2 separate regions of the Homo sapiens genome follow, and region 1 is linked to region 2. The links are contacts of gene promoters, found by promoter capture Hi-C in blood cells and fetal thymus (Javierre and others, 2016). All regions are on one chromosome and are shown on one strand. The core of a region is centred on a gene start or on the middle of the fragment in contact, and the rest is flanking DNA. Distances in the headings are between cores, read along the strand shown.

Region 1 (3,532 bases), core at 252-2,751, 230 kb before region 2:
GAGTGCAGTGGCGCCATCTCGGCTCACTGCAAGCTCCGCCTGCCAGGTTCACACTATTCTCCTGCCTCAGCCTCCTGAGTGGTTGGGACTACAGGCATGTGCCACCACACCTGGCTAATTTTTGTATTTTTAGTAGAGACAGGGTTTCACCATGTTGGCCAGGCTAGTCTCAAACTCCTGATGTCAAGTGATCTGCCCACCTTGGCCTCCCAAAGTGCTGGGATTACAGGTGTGAGCCACCTTGCCTGGCCAAAAACACAATTTTTAGTAGAGACGGGGTTTCACCTTGTTAGCCAGGATGGTCTCGATCTCCTGACCTCGTGATCTGCCTGCCTCGGTCTCCCAAAGTGCTGGAATTACAGGCATGAGCCACTGCTCCCCGGCCACACTTGAGTCTTTCAGTGGACAAAAAAAATGATACTATGTTTCCTTATTGGTGAAAGAGAAAAACATAGCTCGAACAGAGGAGATGGCAATTTAAGAATATACATAACAATTTTACATGTACACACCCTCTGACTTAATAGATTAACGATTATGAGGTGACCATGCGTATTTCCCAAAGCCTGCCAGATGGCGTGTACAGGGTGGTTGGTTTTGTTTTGTTTTTTTGTTTGGGTTTTTTTTTGTTGTTGTTGGTTTGTTTTGGTTTTGGTTTGCTTATTTTTTTAAGCACAATTTTATTAAGGTCTAATTGGAATACAGAAAACTTTGTATGTGTTCAAAGTGTAAAATTTAATAAAGTTGAATGCTCTTGAAACCATCACCAGAATCAAGAGAGTGTTTAGGACCAAATGTAATTTTTAAAATAATGCTTACAGTTACAAAGTTTTCTTTCTTTTTTTCCCCCACCCTCTGTGTATGATTGTTTAAATCAAGCCAAAATTTTAACATTGATTTGATTAAAAAAAAAATCTTGCAACGGAAAAAGAGGTAGATAACGTTAAACCTAATTGGCTATAGGCGGCTTCAGAGGACAGCGTATTTACCTGGATCTCTCCTCACTGGGCACCACCGGCTACTTAGGGCCACTACGAGAATGAAGAGAGGAGGCCTTGAAAGGCTCTCAGCTCTTTGTGGAAATAAGAAAATGGGAGGACAAGTCCCCCTCTTTGTGATTTGGGAAGGTTTCCTCTTCTCTTGCCTTCCTGCTTGGTGGTGGTAATAACCCTGTGTCTGCATAACAGGCACAGTTACTAACAGTGCTGCTGTCAGCCTGTTAACGTGTGCCCCTCCAGAGGCCTGACAAGGGGTCCCTCCCTGTGTGGTCTAGGCCCTGAAACCCATCCTGGCCTTGCCTCATCCTCCCAACCCCATCCCCTACCTTGTTCCTCCCATCCAAAGCATTCCAAGTCCTTGTTCACCTTGGCATTTTTACACTGTTTGAACTTCATCACTGGAAAGTTCTCCCCACCCTCCTACTTGAGTGATTTATTTCTCTTCTTCAGATTTTAGTGAAATTCCACCTCACATCTGCACAGCTGTAGCCCCTACTGGGGAGGCTGAGGCTGTAGGATCCCTTGAACCCAGAGCATTTTGAGTTCGGCCTGGGTAAAAAAGCAAGATCCCATTTATAAAAATAAAATAAGGCCAGGTACGGTGTCTCATGCCTATAATCCATTCCAGCACTTTGGGAAGCTGAGGCAGGTGGATCATTTGAGGTCAGGAGTTGAAGACCAGCCTGGCCAACATGGTGAATCCCCATCTCTACTAAAAATGCAAAAATTAGCCAGGTGTCATGGCCTGTGCCTATAATCCCACCTACTTGGGGGACTGAGGCAGGAGAATTGCCTGAACCCAGGAGGCAGAGGTTGCAGTGAGCCGAGATCACACCACTGCTCTCCAGCCTGGGCAACAGAGTAACATTCTGTCTCAAAAAAATAAAAACAAAAAATAGCAACAAAATGAATGTCAACTCAGATGAACCCATTAATGAAAACTTGTCTTTCTTAACATACAACATCAGGAATGAATTTTGAGTTTGTTTCTCCCACCAGACTCAGTTCCCCAAGGGCAAGGACAATCTTGTTCCTATGTATGCGGGGCCAGGTTTGGTGTTCTATATATAAGATATGATCAGTACTCAGCGTTCTGGTAACTAACTGTCCAGCAGAAATGTGAGCTGGAGACTTGGTTTTGAAACCAGCAGATGGAACTGGTTCCTAACCAAGGGCCATATTGCCCCCCAGGAGAGATTTGCAAGGACAGTAGATTTTTTTCTTTGTCAGGATGAGGCAGAGGCTGGCCACTGTCTTCAGTGAGCAGAGGTCAGGGATGCTAAGTGCCCGGCAGTGAATAAGACTCTGCCCCCCACGGTGAGGCACTGTTTGGTGGGAAATGTCAATAACAGTGGCTAAGAAGCACTGATGTATAATGACCCCCTGCCAAACAATTTCTCAGTTCTATTAAGACAGTCTCTCTTTTGCTGACACGTCCTGATACCTAAAAATTAAATTACCTCCCTGGGTTTTAAAAAGCTGTTCATTTTCTCTAGCTTCCTTTCTCTTGGAAAACAACAACAACACATTTTGGTCTCAAATGGTAATCATTTTAGTTATTAGACAGTGACACTTTTGTATATTTCTATTCAAGATTTTATAATTTAGAAACCAATTTCGAAGTGTTTGGTCAGGTGACATGGTTAGGAGGAGACATTCTTCTAATCCCAAGATTTTTATAGAGAAGAGATTATACAGTTTCCTCAAACTTTTTTTTTTTTTTTTTGAGATGGAGTTTTGCTCTTGTTGCCAGGCTGGAGTGCAGTGGCATAGTCTTGGCTCACTGCAACCTTCCCTCCCAGTTTCAAGCAATTCTCCTGCCTCAGCCTCCCCAGTAGCTGGGATTACAGGCACCCACCACCACACCCCGCTAATTTTGTATTTTTGTAGAGACAGGGTTTCACCATGTTGGCCAGACTGGTCTCGAACTCCTGACCTCAGGTGATCCACCTGCCTCGGCCTTCCAAAGTGCTGGGATTACAGGCGTGAGCCACTGCGCTGGCCCATCCTGTGATTTTAAAAGTGTGAGGAAACTGGCCAGGCATGGTGGCTCACGCCTGTAATCCCAGCACTTTGGGAGGCCAAGGCAGGTGGATCATCTGAGGTCAGGAGTTCGAGACCAGTCTGGCCAACATGGTGAAACCCTGTCTCTACTAAAAATACAAAAAATTAGCCTGGTGTGGTGGCGGGCGCCTGTAATCCCAGCTCCTAAGGAGGCTGACGCAGGAGAATTGCGTGAACCCGGGAGGTGGAGGTTGCAGTGAGCCGAGATTGCAGCATTACACTCAGCCTAGATGACAGTGCAAGACTCTGTCACCAAAAAAAAAATAAATAAAATAAAAAATCACAGGATGGAACAGGCACAACAAAGACACAAGGAATCTTACTATAAACTCTTAGTGAATTTAGTGTGGTCTTAGGAATTTTCTCTTCTGGTGGAACTGCTACTGTTATCTCTTTGTGGAATGAGGAGATTAATCTAGGTAACACTTTCTCATACCCAACAGAATAGTAACTTAAAAGTTAGGAGACTA
Region 2 (3,608 bases), core at 118-2,617:
GAAACGACCCTCCACACCCCCCCTCCCCACCCACATACACACAGTTTAAATGGACAAGAGTCGTTAGTGTGCAGAGGCAGAACTTCATCCATCTTTGGGACACAAAGACCTCCAGACGCCCTGGGTCAAGGGGTACCTGGGGCCAAATGCAGAGCTGACTGGACATGGACACAGTAATTTCTGTATCACGTGATCACTCTTTGCTGGTGTTCATTCAACTCACCTATACGCTCATTCACTCTAAAATACAAGCAGAGAGCTGTATTCTTTCTTTGAGTTTCCTGGATTGAAACTCTGATGGAATGGTCACGACTCAAGACAAACCAATATCATAATTCTGCAAGTATAATTGCCTAATCTTTCTGGAAAGGTTTGCATGCCTGGAAGGAATTTAGGTCAGGTCCAGCGCGGTCTCCATCCGGCTTGGCTCTGCCTCCCCATCCTGTGGGTTGCCCGGCCTTCCCCAGATGGTCCCGGGAGCTCTCAGAATTGGCACCGCGCTCGCATCTGTGCTCAGGAGCCCTGTGAGGTCGTCGACCCTGCAAATCGCGGCAGTCCAGCCTGGACCACCTGCCAGGGTCTCCCTGCCGCATCTCCGACCCCCGGCGGCTGCTGCATCCCGCTCCACCTGCCTCCCTGGGAAGGCGCGGGCGCCCGCCCGGCTGCGGGGCAGCATCCTGGCAGAGCGCCGGCCCCTCCCAGAGTTGGCACAACTCGAGCCACTTTCTTCAAAGGCTCCAGCCTCCAGCCTCGAGTGGGCGCAGCCCCCCACGCGCGGCCTGCACCCCCTCTCTGTGTCGCCCGCTTTCACGTACGCCGCCCTGCCGCCGGCCCCCGCGCACTGTAGCCACCCGCAGACACGCGCGCCCTCCTCCTGTTTACCGAGAGGGAGCGTGAGCACTGCCACTGTGGTCGCCAAGTTGGGCTGGGGACTCCGGGTGAGGGGACGCGCCACAGGCCGGGGTCGGGGGTCGTACGGGCCCCAGCCGCTGGTACTGGGCGCGCCGCGGGGGCGGCGGGGCCGGGGTCCGGACTCTGAGCCCCGGAGCGGCCCCTCCCTCCCGCGGCAGCGGCCGAGGCAGCGCCCCGGCCTGCTTGGGCCTCCCGGGGTGCACAGTTCCCCACAGGGGCGCAGGGTCCCTGTCCGCACGCGCGCTCACCTCGGGGGGGCCGGTCTGGTCGCGCAGATCGCGCTGCAGCGGAGGCTCCGCATCTCCCGGGCGCCTGCCCGCCGCCCTCCGGGGCGCCCGGCTGTCTTCGCCGGGCGCGAAGAAGGGTCGCGGGGACGCGCAGAGGCCGTGGGTTCCTGAAGCCGCTCGCGCCGGCTCCTGCCGCCCGCTGTCCGCAGCCTAGCAGGAAATTTGTCCGGCCGGCCGCGTCCCGCCGCCGCCTCGGCTCCAGCTCCGGCTGTGGCTCCGCGGCGGGGGCGGGGGCCTGGGCGCTGCGAGGAGCGGGGGCGACGCCTGGTGCCCGGCGCGGGGAGCGCATCCAGGGCGCCCGCCCCACCTGCGAGGCGGGTATGGCCCTGAGGCCCTGCGGCCCTGCCCTGGGAGCACCCAGACACTGTGGGCATCCGTTTACTCAAGGCTGGTGCCCCTTCCGGGGAGGCCTGGTCCAGCCACTCCGCCGGGACCCAGGTGCGTAGACAGAGGGTCAGGGTATGGCAGGCACTCACACCTGGTGGAGAGCAAAGGCAAGGCCCTGCCTCTCCCTGCCCTATCCCTGTGCACCAGGAAGTGGCCTGACTAGGGACTCGCCCTGGTCTTGCAGCAGGTGTGGGACACGCAGGGCACCCCGTGCGCTTCTGGTGCGAGGAAGCTGGGAGAGCTGTGAGGTCGCTGGGCCTGGTGGCCTCCTCTGGAAAGAGGAGGGGATAAGGCGCCTGTCTGGGGGATGTAGAAGAGGGCTCGCTTGTCCCGAAGGCAGTATCTGTCAAAGTTAAAAACGCACAAAGAGAAAGAAGAGCGACAGAGCCAGGCACTGGGCCTGCTGTCTAGCCGACTTCTTCCAGGGAATTTCACTCAAGCTATTTAGGGAGCTTTCAGAGAAAAGGCAGTTCCCTGGAAGGAGCAGAAAAGACACTGGTGGCATGTTGGTTCTGAACCTTTGTGCCGTGCCCTCTGGATGGGGCCACGGCCCAGCCCTCATGAGGGAAGCTGCATTCTGTGGTAGGGACCCAGCTCATTAGGCTTATGAATGAATGAATGGATGGGGAGAAAGTGGCACTTACGGTGTGTTACCCCACGTTGCACCGATTGCCAGCCGACGACTCTTAGCATACTTAAGGCCTGTTTAGACAGAGCTACGGACCCCAAAGGCTGCAGAGCAATGGGTGCCTCCTGGCAGAGGCCACCCCCACGTGATTTGCCCAGAGTGGGACTTCCCCTCCACAGGGGCCGGAGAGCTGCGAAACCAGTGGAGAACTTGAGCTCCACCTCCCTGCCCTGCCCTGCCCATTTCTGTCCCTGGGGGCCTTGTCTAGCCCCAAAGCTTTAAACACCATCCGTATGGGAATGACTCTAAGCAGCACCACTCTGGGGCCCTCTCCTCCAAGCTCAGCTCCTCCTGGCTGTCTCCTGCTGTCTCAGACCTGCCTCTTGCTCTTACTTAGTTTCTCTGCAGTCGTCCCTGTCCCTGCCTCCGTGTCCCACCTCAAGTCCACCTCCCAGAGGGCCCAAGTCCACTTCCCACTGGCTTCTCCATGCATCTTGCCCTTTCATCTCACTGCCTGCGCCCCTCCAAAACCTGCAGTGGCTCCCCAGCTTCTGACCCACTCTCCCAGATGATCCATTCTTCACACTTGGTCCCAGGCACCTCACAAAGTGTAAACCGGGTCCTGCTAGCCCCCTGCTTAAAAGCCTCCAGGAATATTAAAACCCAAACTCCCACGAGGCTCTGCCTGACTTCCCTGGCTGCTCTGAGCCTCTCACCCCTGCCCGCTGGGCTCCAATCACGGCTCCTTTCTCTCAGTGCCAGAGCCAAGCTCCTTCCTGCCTGGGACTCCTCCAACCAGTGCACCTGGTTCCTTCTTACTGGTGGCTTCTGGAAGATCGCCCTGCATCCATCTCTTCTGCCACTCTCTTCCACATCCTCCATCACAGTTTGGAATTATTTGTGGGTTTATTGGCTCCTTTTGTGTCTGTCGTGCCCTCTTCCCCTACCCCCAGGGCTGTAAGCTCCAGCAGCCTAGGCTCTGTTGATCTCCATGGCTTCTCAGACTCAAGCTCCTAAAGCAACGTCAGTAGCCAGGAGGTGCTCAGTGAAGGCGTCTGGGCTGTCAGAGCAGAGGAGGATGGGCCCCAGCCAGCAGCAGCAGACAGCCTGGTCACCTCGGAGCCCAGCAGGGCGGGTGGCTCCCTCCTGAGTGCACCTCCAAGGAACAGCCCAGGTTGAGGTGGGGCCAGGTAGCACATGACGTCACCAGGCTTTGGATTTTTCTGCTGTTGTGGTCTACAGAGTCAGGCTTATGTACATGAAGGCCATAATTACAAAGCTCTGCTAAGCACAGTTTTGCTTGTTAACGCTGCAGGGCTGAGGAGGCAGAGACTGTGAGCTAAGAAGACAGAAACAACTTGCCTTTGTCAGACATCTGCTATTGGAAAGTGAAC

What was found. The method cuts DNA at HindIII sites, captures the fragments that hold promoters and counts their contacts. A CHiCAGO score of 5 or more calls a contact.
Region 1: a contact is called between a fragment that was not itself captured here and the fragment with the promoter of PTPRE in region 2, in 6 of 17 cell types (monocytes, activated CD4 T cells, M0 macrophages and 3 more). The highest score is 8.1, in monocytes.

Annotation. Positions count from the first base shown.
Region 1 is chr10:128,139,391-128,142,922 of GRCh38, reverse strand. No RefSeq gene overlaps it. Among named protein-coding and RNA genes, the nearest start is that of MKI67, 15 kb to the right of the region's middle. The HindIII fragment of the contact is 6,764 bases long and covers 1-3,532 here.
Region 2 is chr10:127,904,862-127,908,469 of GRCh38, reverse strand. It overlaps PTPRE (protein tyrosine phosphatase receptor type E), which reads right to left and starts at 1,367. Exons shown (of 21, transcript NM_006504.6): 1 at 1,161-1,367. RefSeq lists a silencer at 1,404-1,523. The HindIII fragment of the contact is 4,276 bases long and covers 1-2,492 here.